Regions from separate parts of the Homo sapiens genome. Here region 1 is linked to region 2. The links are contacts of gene promoters, found by promoter capture Hi-C in blood cells and fetal thymus (Javierre and others, 2016). All regions are on one chromosome and are shown on one strand. Each heading gives the region's core, a stretch centred on a gene start or on the middle of the fragment in contact. The rest is flanking DNA. Distances are from core to core; before and after follow the strand shown. Region 1 holds the start of STK24 (serine/threonine kinase 24). Region 2 holds the start of TEX30 (testis expressed 30).

Region 1 (6,417 bases), core at 472-2,971, 4.2 Mb after region 2:
CCTGTATTTTCTTTAATAATATATAATGAATACATTTTCCCCATTACTAGGTACTGAAAGACATAATTTTAAATGACTACATAGTACTCGTATGAAAATGCTATTATTTACTTAACCTCTGTGAGACTTTTTGGCTGTTCCGTTTCCCCAGGATTCTAAACATCACTGTGTCTTCTTACATGCATTCTTCCACACTTCTTGGTTGTTGCCTTAGGATATGTTACTTTAGGTAGAATTCCTGGGCTGCGCTGAAGAATAGAAACATTTTAAAGATTCACATTCTTGCTTGTTTTGCTGTTCGCCTCTTTAGGTACCATATTTTTTAGGTGTACAAAATTTATACACCTGATTTTAAGTTCCTGGGTATCAGGGTTCATACTTCTCTTAATTTTGTATTTCCTTGCAGTCCTACTTACGGGTGGCAGGGCTCCTCAAGGGATGGGTGTACCAATGACAACCATGAAAGTATTCTAAGGTATTCCCTAGGACTCCGAGAAAAAACATGCATCTTTCCAAAGGGAAAGAAGGGATTAGATGTTAGCATCCTACTCCATGTCAGATCCAGAGCACCCGGGGGAACTGAAGTTCGTGGATGGAATACAATGACACCTCAGAAAAGAAATACTCCTTTGGTGGAGGCCTTTAAACTTTTGGGGGCTCATTTTGTCTGCCTAACTCGCCCAGCCAGGGCGCAAAATGGCCACTTAGGAGCATGAGTGAGGTGCCAGCGTCCCTACAATCTAAGGAGCAGGGAGTCATCACTGGGGTGGCTGCCGCTCTACCTGTTTGCGACTGTAATAAAACACCTTCTGGAGGCCGAGGGACCCGCTTCATCCTGACTTTTCCCCTCAGTAGCTAGAGAGAAGGCGGCTGAAAAGAGGAGACAGAACTGGTGCTGAGTGGGCCTGGAGCTTCCGAGGCAAGGGAAAGAGGGAGAGGGCTGCAGTTCAAAGTCCAGACGCGCTTTCCTTCCATTCTCTTCCCTTCCTCCCTGCCCTCTGCGCCCCATTTTCCCCTTATCGTGGGTGGGGGCTTCTGATTTGCTGCGGATCCCAGAGATGGTGGGGTTCAGCCTCCGCACTGCTTAGCTAAGTTCCCAGCCCAGCAGTCCCAGCCGGGCTGTTTTCGGTAACCAAAGCACTAGGAATTAACCTCTCTCTCGGCCTCTTCCCTTTCGGTTTCCTTCTTGGGTTGGCTGGAAACTTCACCCAGACACCGAAGCAGCTCTGCCCGGCCTTTTGGCACAGGCCACCGGCCGAGGCCCCACGGGGCGCTCTCCTTCCCCAGGTGCCCCCGACTCCGATCCTGCCCTCAGGGGCTCGCCCGGGACGCGTTTTCCCAGAGGCCGCCGGGGCGGGGTGGGCTGGCTGGCGGGAAGAGGGGGCCGCGGCCCAGGCTCGCCCCGGCGCCGGCCCGGTGGGCACGCGGCCAGCCTCCGGCCCCGACTCGGTCCCTCCCGGCGCCCGCCCCAGCCGAGGCCCCCTCCCGGCCCCGCCGCCCGCCCGCGGGGGCGTGGGAGCGCCGCAGGAGCAGCTGGGACCCGGGCCGGGCCGACAGGCGGCGGCTGCGGCCTAGGGCTCCCGCGCGGCCACCGGCCTCTCCCCTCCCCCTCCCGGAAGCGCGGGGCGGGGTCCCCGGCCGGGCCGTGGGGGCGGGCGCGGGGGCCGGGCCGGGGCGGGACGCGCTCGGCGCTCGCGGGCTCGGCGGGCTGTGCGCGCCCACTCCGGCTCCAGCGGCCAGCGCGCGCGGGCCCAGGCCGCCCGGCTCCAGCCCAGCAGTAGCGGCAGCAGCGGCGGCGGCGGCAGTGCGCGCGAGGCCCTGCGCCCCCAGCAGCTCCTCCCTGGCGCCGTGCATGGAGACGCGGCCCGCCACCCGCCGCTGAGCCCCCGCCGCCCGGCCGGGACCCGCCAGGGCTGGGGTGGCCTCGGGCTCCGGCCGGCCCCGCCGCCCGAGGGCTGCGCGCGGCCCGCGGGCCTCGCCGCCCCGCGCGGATCGTCGCGGCCCGGCCGTCCCGTCCCAGGAAGTGGCCGTCCTGAGCGCCATGGCTCACTCCCCGGTGCAGTCGGGCCTGCCCGGCATGCAGGTAGGCGGGCGCGGGCCGCGGGGCCGGGATGCGCGACCGGGGCGGAAGCAGCAACTTGGCGGTATCCACACGGCGTCCCCCTACGCTCAGCCGGCCGGGGTCGCGCCGGAGCCTGGCTCCCCGCGCGCCCGGCTCGGCCGGGGGTCCGAGTCCGAGTCCCTGGGCGTCCCTGCCGGCTCCGGCGGCCGAGGTCTCCGGCGTGTGCGTGCAGGAGCCGTAGGAACCGCGGCCTGGGTCCGGATGTGGGGGTGCGGGCGCCTAGTCCTCCGCGCTCCCCTCGCCCCAACACTCTTCCGGAGCTGCAGGCCCTGGGTGGCCCTGTCCCCGGGAGAAGTGAGGTGGAGTGATGCCCTTGGAGGCCCCCGCCGGGTCCCGGGGCCCTGCGTGGTGGCCGGGTTGGCGGAGGGCCCCAGGACGCGTCCCCCAGGCTCGTCCCCCACCCCCGGGCAGGCGGGCGGGAGACCTGGGCAGGGCGGGGACGGGGAGCGCGCCTGGACTCGTCCGGGCCCGAGCGGAGTAGGCAGGGTGGAGTGGAGGAAGGTAACCGCGAGTTCCACTTGCAGTGGCTTTGCCCGGAGCCCCCGTGCACCTGCGGACCGGGGGAAAGTGCGAGTTGCAAACCTTCTGGAAGGAGGAATCCCTCGGACAGCCGCGCACCAGGGTCCCGGGCCCGGCCCCGGGACCCTGGACTTTCACTTTGAGACTTGGTTGCATTTACAGGAATTCTTCGCCCAGTAAACCTCTCTTTCGGTACTTGGTGACACCTTGGCCTACCAGTGACTTTTTGGGGAGTGGGAGAGGAGTTGAATTTCAAATTTACATGTATAAGTTAAAGGTTTTTTGTTGTTGTTGTTTTCGTTGTCGTTGCTTTTAGCCCTTTGAAAAACAAAGCTACCGTCCTTGGCTAACTCTTGTAAACTTTGTAGGCGCAGAAATGGTGGCAAAATGCTTAGGATGGAAATCTTAGGATGCAGTTAGGATATGTCATGAAAGTTTGCTCTGCCAGTTTAGCTGAGTGAACGTTAAGTGTTTGAAGAAAACCAAAAGCATCCAAGTAGATTACTGGTTGATTTACAGGTACCAACAGGCTCCTTCCCTGTGTCTTGAGGGCTGAGAAGCACAGAGCCCAGACCTGGGACTGCCTCTGGGGTCTGCTCGCCTCTTCCAGTGAGATCATCCCTCTCCCTTCTTTTTTTGAAACCGTAAAAAGAAAACTGGATTTCACTGTTCAGGTTTGAATTCTGGAAAAATAGGAACTCAAAGTTACCACTTTAATGGCAGCTAGAATTTTAGTCCAAGTGTGTGTGTGTGTATATGTGTGTGTGTGTGTGTGTGTGTATATATAAGCAGTATATATATGTGTGTATATATGTTTAAGCAGTAAATAAATATACATTTAAGCAGCAACAGTTAAGTTATTATCTTAAGAGTGACTGGGAAGATGCTTGAAGAATATTCTTTTGTCGACTCTCATTTAAGGAGCGTTGAATTTAGCATGCATTCAAAACCTAAACTTCTGCTGACTGCTGGGTAACAATCAGATGTGGTTTCTTGGTATTTTCTAAAGCCGCTTTGGTATGAATTTAGAGGTGTGTAGGTCAGAGTGAACTGGGTGAAAAAAGTAATTTCTTACTAGTCGAGCAAGAAAGGACTCTTGTAATGATTTAAAAAAAAAGTTTTATCAATATTTCCTTTAGGTTGATATTTATACCGTGTTCATCAGGTTGGAATCTAGCACAAATGCCTCACTTACTAGGTTAATTGGCCTTTGTGGATAGCGAATCAGTTTGAAAAGGTACTAAAGCCCCTTTGGCTGGTGCCGTGAAGTCAGTATCAGATGGTTACCAGGTGATATCTAGTATCTCACCTTTTCATTTTTATCCTCACTTTTTTTTTTGAGTGGGTCAGAATTCTTAAACCTTGGGAAAAGAAGATACATTTCCTTAATAACTTTGCCTCTCAACTATTATGTATCTGTTAGGTTGTGTTACATGGGAACTGTTTTTATTTTGTTTTCTCAGTATGAAAGATCTTAAGTGTTTCTCAGTGGAAAAGATGATCAGATTTTCAGCTGTTACAGTTTTACAGTTTTAGAGGTAGGTAAGTTGGCTTCTGCCAGTCATTCCTGTACCTAAGTACATCTACAGACTGTATGGTAACAGTGTATCATTTGGGGAAGAACATTCTTTTCTCCTCCCCCACCCCACAAAAGAAAAACAACAGCACATTTATTTTCTACTTCAAATTAGCAGTTGCTACTGCCCTGGGAGGCTTCCCTAAGAGTTGTTGCTGAAGATTCAATTAAAAACACACCTGCTTTCGACTGTTGTCTGCTAAATGGGAGGAGAGAAGTCCGTATCTCTTCTATGGCTTGCTCTGATAGGCCTCATAGCCCTCCCTTTTTCTTGTCTCCTGACCAGGGCTTATAAGGAGTTGGCTTAGAAAGACAGCAGAGTCTGTAATCTCAGCAGTTTGAGAGGCCGAAGTGGGCGGATCATGAGGTCAGGAGATCGAGACCATCCTGGCTAACATGGTGAAACCCTGTTTCTACTAAAAATCCAAAAAATTAGCTGGGCGTGGTGGCACACGCCTGTAATCCCAGCTACTCGGGAGGCTGAGGCAGGAGAATCACTTGAACCCGGGAGGCGGAGGTTGCGTTGAGCTGAGATTGTGCCGTTGCACCCCAGCCTGGGCGACAGAGGCAGACTCCGTCTCAAAAAAAAAAATAAAATAAAAAAATAAAGCAGAGTGAATTCAGGTGGCCTAGGCAAGGATGCTTGAAAAATAACAACCATGTTAGTATAAACACCATTTTTCAATGTTTTGCAAATCATTTTTATGCCTCTTGATTCTTACCGGTACCGTTTGAGATGTAGATGATATTATACCATTTTGTAGATGTGGAGACCAAGGAAGACTTAACTGACCAAGGTGAGATCATATATTATGTGGCAAATTTGTGATTGGAAACTACTACTCCTCCTACTCCCACTCATCATGCAGTGTTACTGTTTTATGGTTACTTTTGCAAACATTAAAGTTTATCTCATTGCTAGTTAGATTGGCTAAAGAAATTAGAAATAGGAGGCTGATTTTTTAATTTATTCAATCAGCAACCCTTATTGAACTTTCATGTGCCAGGTCCTAGGGGAGGGGTTGAAAGTGGTAGATCTGAATGAGGTTACCATTTAAAGTAAATGTTTAATGAAAGTTGCTGAAGCCTTTGCTTTTTTTCTCTTAAACCCCAGTTTTATATTTCAGTAGGGGAAAAAAATAGACATCAGAAACTGAATGAATATAGTGACGAATAAACATAAAGAAATCAGGCTGATCTGTGGCTATAAGTACTCCGTCTTTCATTGAGCATTTGTTGTTTCACTCAATTGAGATTAAAAGAAAAGCTTCAGATGGAGGCAGGAACACCAATCGGCTTTGAGTTTGCAGAAATGTGATTTAAAAATGAGATTTTGGTTTGCACATTTCTGTTACAAAATTTTATCAGTCACTTTTCAACTTTTCTGAACCGTGACCCATGTAAGAAATATATTTTACATCAGGATCAAAAACAAGTTTCAGGAGACCGTACTAATCCTTACTACGGGTTGAGTATCCCTCATCCAAAATGCTTGGGACCACAAGTGTTTCGAATTTTGGAATATTTGCATTATATGCTTGTTGAACATCCGAAATCAGAAGTGCTCCCAATGAGCATTTCCTTTGAGTGTCATGTTGGCGCTGAAAAGTTTCATATTTTGGAGCATTTTGGATCAGGGATGCTCAGCCTGTGCTTGTGATGTGCTGTTGTGGTATATTTAAAAAAGGAGCTGGTTGCAACACTAGATTGATTTCACAGCCCACTGATTCCTGACCCACAGTTTGAAAAATACTGAATTATATACGTCACATGTATTGCATATTGCAGGGCCTGGTTAATTTACCATGTTTTGAAGTTGTAAGTTTAACATAGTTTCATATTTGAAAATACAGATAATTTAGAGGAATAGCTTAAAAACCTGAAGTTTGTCTTGTTAACATCATCCTGTCCCCCTCGTTCCCCTTCTGTTTTTCTTGCTGCTTGGATAAATAGACCTTTGCTGAGAATGCCCCTTGCATCAGGATAGTGAGACTGGTGTCTAATGGCCAGTCTGGGAACATGGGGAGCTTTTCTCAAGTGCTCTGCTCCACCCTAGGGAAGCCTGTGCACTCTGGGAGTCTGGGAAATGAAGGCAAACACAGGACAGCTGCATTTAATTGTGGCTTAAGTGCTCTTGTACTTTTTTTTCTTGTTAGTGTCACATTTCCACGGGTTCTTTTCCGTTCCTTCCTTGGGAGGT
Region 2 (5,767 bases), core at 3,102-5,601:
GGATTTATTTTAAGAAATTGGTTCACACAATTATAGAGGCTAGCAAGTCCAAAATCTGCAGTTAAAGTCCAAAGACCATTAGGCTGGAGACCCAGGAGAGATTAGTATTGCAGTTCAAGCCTGAAGGCGGTCTGCTGACAGAATTCCCTCTTGCTCAAGGGAGGCTAGTCTTTTGTTCTACTTACTCCTTCAGTTAACTGGATGAGGCCCCCCCCCTGCCACGTTACAGAGGGCAATCTGCTTTACTCACAGTTCACTGATTTAAATGGTAATCTTATCCCAAAACACCCTCATCAAAACATGCAGAATAATGTGTGACCACTTATCTAGGCACCCTGGATCAGCCAACTTGACACATAAAGTTAGCATTACAAATGGGAATTCGTTCAACAACTGTTGAGCACCTAATATGTGCCAGACATTGTACTGTGCTCTAAGGATACAGAAGTGAACAACTGCTGTCTATTCTGAAAAAGAATGAAATTAACAAGTAAAAACTAAACAAGATAATTATGGATTGTCATAAATAAAAATAGGGTATTATAGAGAAAAGTGGGGTAGATAGTGGTGGCTACTTTAGATTGGATCATCAAAGATGCTACAGATTTTTCAATGTCGAGTAAAATGTTTGGTATAGTTTATGATAAACAACCACTATTAAAACAATACATTTCCAATCTAATACTGACTTATTTCCTTTTTCAATAGGAAAGGCATTAAATTTTATTAAATGTTTTTAAGTCATCTATTGAAATGCTCATGTTTTATTTGGCTTTGTTTTTGCTGCATTAATCTGTAATGGATTACATTAATAGCATTCTAATTTTTGAAACATTATAAAACCCCAGGGTTTAAAAAAAAAACAAACCCAGGGTTATTACATATTATTATTTTAATACATGGCTGAATTAATTGCACTAATATTTAATTTAGGATATTTCAAACTATAGCCCACAGGCCAAATCTGAGCCACCACCAGTGTTTGTACAGCCTGCAAACTAAGAATAATCTCAACATTGCTAAGTGGCTGAAAAACATAAAAAGAAGAGTATCTCATTACATGAGAAGCATATATGAAATTCAATTTTTGGTTCATAAATAAAGCTTTTGTATTAGTTTCCTATTGTTGCTATGATAAATTACCACAAACTTATGTGGTTGAAAACAACATAAATTATTCTTTCACAGTTTTGGAGGTCAGAGTCCGAAACCAGTTTCACAGAGCTCATGTCAAGGTATTGGCAGGGCTGATTCCTTCTGGAGTCTCTGAGAGGGGAAAACTTTTCCTTGCTATTTCCAGCTTCTAGAGCTGCAGTCCTTATATTTCTTGTCTTGAGGCCCCTCTTCCATCTTCTCAGCCAGCATCTTGGCATCTTCAAATCTCTCCGCTTCTGTCGTCACATCGCCTTTTGTTTCTCTGAATGGCACAGCAGAATTATTCATAATAACCAAAAAGTATAAACAATTCAAATGTCCACCAACTGGTGAATGGATACTCAAAAATGCTGAATACTATTTGGCAATAAAAATATATGAGTTGTAACAAGGTGCAAAGTTCTGATGCATGTCACAGCATGGATAAACCTTGAAAACATTATCCTAAGTGCAAGAGGCTAGAGGCATACGACCATACAGTGTAGGACTCCATTTATATGAACTGTCCAGAAAAGGCAAATCCAGAGAGACAGAAAGTATGTTAGTGGTTGCCCGGGGTTAGGGGTAGGAACAGAGAATGGCTGTAATGCCAGTGAATCCCAAAATTGGAGCTCAGCCTGAGAGGGTTCTTGACTTTGCACAGGAAAGGATTCAAGAGCAAACTGACAGTAAAATGAAAGCAAAGCAAGTACATTAGAGCAACAAAGCACAGGAAAATTGCTTCTGGTAAACTGAGCAGGGCTACCCCACAGGCAGAGTAACACTCATGGATTGCTGGCTAGCTATATATATATATGTATCTACATATACATATATATGTATATACATACATATCATATATATGTATCTACATATACATATATATGTATATACATACATATGTGTGTATATACATATATATGTATATACACACATATATACACATATATAATATATACATACATATAATATATACATACGTATATAAACATATACATGTTATATATACATATGTGTATATATACACATATATACATATATAGTATTTATACTATATGACTATATGTATATAGTATTTATACTATATGACTATATGTATATAGTATATACATACACACATAAATACTATATATAATATTTATACTATATATGTATACATAGTATTTATACTATATATAGTACGGATATATATTATATGTGTGTATATATACACATATGTATATGTGTGTGTGTGTATGTATATATATATATATATAGAGAGAGAGAGAGAGAGAGACGGAGTCTCGCTCTGTTGCCCAGCCTGGAGTGCAGTGGTGCGCTCTTCTCGGCTTTGCAACCTCTGCCTCCAGGGTTCAAGCAATTCTCCTGCCTCAGCTCCCGAGTAGCTGGGACTACAGGTGCCTGCCACTACGCCTGAGTAATTTTTGTGTTTTTGGTAGATGCCGGGTTTCACCGTGTTGGCCAGGCTGGTCTCCAACTCCTGACCTCAGGTGATCCACCCGCCTTGGTCTCCCAAAGTGCTGGGATTACAGGCATGCGCCAGGGCACCCGGCCACTGGCTAGCTATATTTATACCTACTCCTTCATCGTACGCTAAATAAGGGGTGGGTTATTCACGAATTTTCTAGAAAAGGGGTGGGGAGTTCCCCGGAACTGAGAATTCTTCCGTTTTTAAACCATATAAGGTAAGGTCTGGGCATTGCCATGGCATTCGTAAACTGTCAGAGTGCTGGTGGAAGTGTTGTAGCATGTTCATGTATTATAATTAGTGTATAATGAGCAGTGAGGGCACTAGAGGTCACTTTGGTCACCATCCTGGTTTTAGCTGGCTTGGGCCTGTTTCTTTAGGGCAGTTTTGGCCGTTTTTTTAGGGCATCCTGTTCTGACCAGATCCTGTTTTGCTCAGCAGGTGGTGATCAGTGCTTGGAAAGTCCTGCTGATCTCCTACCTCAACTATAACTGTGCAAATACTTTTCAGGGGGATAATGGAAATGTTCTTAAATTATAGTGATGGTTGCAAATGGTTTTAAAATTACTGAAAATGATTGAATGGTACACTTCAAATGAGTGAATTTTATGGCATGTAAAGAAATGTTTTTTAAAAACACAGCTAAAAAATTAGGAGACAAAGAAGTATTAAGACTTTGTAATTTGGGGAAACACTTGTGATAAATGACAGCGACTATGTGGTTTTGTGGAATGTATTTCCTTGTATGTACCGTGACAGAAAAGAGGGCAGGTGCCAACTGCACTGGGCTTGGGGAAGATTCATTCATTTAAGAAATTTTTTTTTTTCTGAGCATTATTCATACACAAGAGGTTCACGGTTAAAACAAAAATTTACAAAAAGCAACCCTTTCTTCACCTGGGAGCTTATAGCGCAGTGAGGAGACACAGATACATCCATAGCTCGTGAGGTGACCGGGGAAGGACAGGAAGAGCGGGGAGGTGATCAGGGGAGGCCTCGCTGTGAAAACCACGCGCCCTGTCGACCCCGAGGAGACGCGGCCCACGCTGGGAGGGAGCAGCCAGGACAAAAGCCGGTCGTCGTGGGGTCCCGCCTGGTGAGTGGGGGTGAGGACAGCGAAGTGTGGGCTGCCCTGGGCTTCCAGGGAAAGGAGCCAGATGGAGAGGGGAGATGTGGGGGACCGATCGCGTGCAACAGCCTAGGCCACTGCCGGCCGCTGGCTGTGGCAATGAGCGCGGAGCCTTTGGAAGATCCAGGGGACAGGCTTCCACAGCATCCACGTGGCTGCGGCGTCGCCGACAAGGCCCAGGCGGGGGCAAGATGGTACGAAGCGACCATTTAAGTGATTGTTACAATCATCCCCGCAAAGATAACAGGGGGCTTGACCCCATGTAGAAGTGTGCGAAGCGGCTGGTTTCTGTCAGCGTTTGACCTTAACGGGAGTAACGAATCGACTATGGGTGTGAGGAAGACTGGTCAGAGCTGATCGCGCCTCGGAATGGAGTGGTGGCTGGGATGCGGAAAGGCCCCGAGTGGAGCAATCCTGGGTGAGGCGGAAACGGGGGCTGACTTTCCAGCCGTCCGCGTGCTACTGAGGCGGCGGCCACCCTGGCACCTTCCCCTAGCTCCGCTAGTCCGCGCGTACAGCCCTGGGATGTGGCGGGCTGGGAGACCCACGCTCCCGGCGTGCTCTGCGGCCCGGCCCGCGCACCCGGGGGGCGTGGCCTGCGCGCGCGTGCGTCGTAGCCGAACGCTGTGGCGGGGCAGGCGAGGCGGTCGCTTCGAGCGCGCTAGTCAGCTCCCTGAAGGGAGTGACGGCGGTTGGGTGCCCGCGGCCACTTTTGCCTTCCCGGGTAAGTGCGGCGGTGGCGGTTGGCGCCGCCGGCTGACGGGCGGCTTCCTGGGAGACGGGGAGAGCACCCGGCAGGCCCGCCTGAGACGTTTGAGGCTCGCGGGCGTCACTCCTCAGGGGCGTCTGGTCCGAGCCGGGAGGCGTTCCGCTAAGTTCGGTGCCCGCGGGCACCAGCCGGTGGGGGCTTCGTCCGCTTTGCCGGGTAGGAGGGCGGAATGTGGGGTTGGTACGGGCGGGGAGAGCCGGACGGGGCCAACCTGGACCACGTCAGCCAGTCCCGGGTGACTGGCTCGAAGTAGCCTCGGAGTTGAGAGGGGTCGACCGGGGCAGCCCGCGGCGCAGCCCCGGCAGCGCGCATTTGCGGAGAGAACGGATCCCGTGCCCCGAGCGCCGCCGAGCCCCGCACGCCCGTGAGACCCGCTTTGAATTTTCTCTCCATGTTTGCTGGGGTTGTTGACCCGACCCCCCGTAAGACTCGGACTCAACGTTTTTGTTTGCCCCACGACAGCCAGCTTAATGCTGTGGACGTAACAGGGCACGAACGTTTGTAACTGAAAGTTGAAGGGGCTGTGGCGTCTCCGTCCCGTGGCGTGGGAGGTGATCGCCCAGCCCTTGTGAGTAGTTGTCGTCCTAGAACTCCGCCGACCGCCTAGCCGGTGGAGCCGGCGCTCCGGACGCCACTAGAGCTGGCGTTTCGTGGGCGCAGCACCTCTAGCCGGTCATCTTCACCATCGCCATTGAGGGCACTGAGGCCGGGCCAGGCTTCAAACCCTGCCCTCTCTGAACCTGAAGCCAGAGATGAAAACCCAGACGACAGTGGCCTGGCACGGTGGCTCACGCCTGACCCCAGCACCATGGGAGGCCGAGGCGGGTGGATCACCTGAGGTCAGGAGTTCAAAACCAGCCTGGCCAACATGGTGAAACCCCGTCTCTACTAAAATTAGCTGGGCGCGGTGGCGGACGCCTGTAATCTCAGCTACTCGGGAGGCTGAGGCTGGAGAATCTCTTGAACCCGGGAGGCAGAGGCTGCAGTGAGCCGAGATCGCGCCGCTGCACTCCTGCCTGGGGGACAGAGCAAGACTCTGTCTCAAAAAAACAAACCCAGATGACCTAGAGCAGGTTGCTTGGGGATTGCATTATGGGGCATTTTCCGTGTTTCTGAAGAAAACCAGCATGTGTGCAGCTGCCGTGAAGAACACACTGTGCATCGTGAAGTCTGAAAAGAAGTAAAGCAGACCGGGAGAGGTGGCAAACGCCTTGGGATCCCAACGGTTTGGGAGGCCAAGGCAGGGGGTATCGCTTGAGCCCGGGAG

The links. The method cuts DNA at HindIII sites, captures the fragments that hold promoters and counts their contacts. A CHiCAGO score of 5 or more calls a contact.
Region 1: the fragment with the promoter of STK24 here is called in contact with the fragment with the promoter of TEX30 in region 2 in 1 of 17 cell types (total CD8 T cells); the score reaches 5.4 in total CD8 T cells.

What each region holds. Positions count from the first base shown.
Region 1 is chr13:98,572,411-98,578,827 of GRCh38, reverse strand. STK24 (serine/threonine kinase 24) reads left to right here and starts at 1,721. Exons shown (of 11, transcript NM_001032296.4): 1 at 1,721-2,083. The coding sequence starts at 2,042. STK24-AS1 (STK24 antisense RNA 1) reads right to left here and starts at 1,573. Exons shown (of 1, transcript NR_046542.1): 1 at 1-1,573. RefSeq lists an enhancer at 1,008-1,197 and silencers at 1,288-1,437, 1,458-1,767, 1,818-2,687, 4,152-4,211, 6,399-6,417. The HindIII fragment of the contact is 9,197 bases long and covers 1-5,486 here.
Region 2 is chr13:102,772,370-102,778,136 of GRCh38, reverse strand. It overlaps TEX30 (testis expressed 30), which reads left to right and starts at 4,351. Exons shown (of 6, transcript NM_138779.5): 1 at 4,351-4,455. RefSeq lists enhancers at 3,241-3,918, 3,919-4,596 and a silencer at 4,179-4,518. The HindIII fragment of the contact is 5,388 bases long and covers 1,107-5,767 here.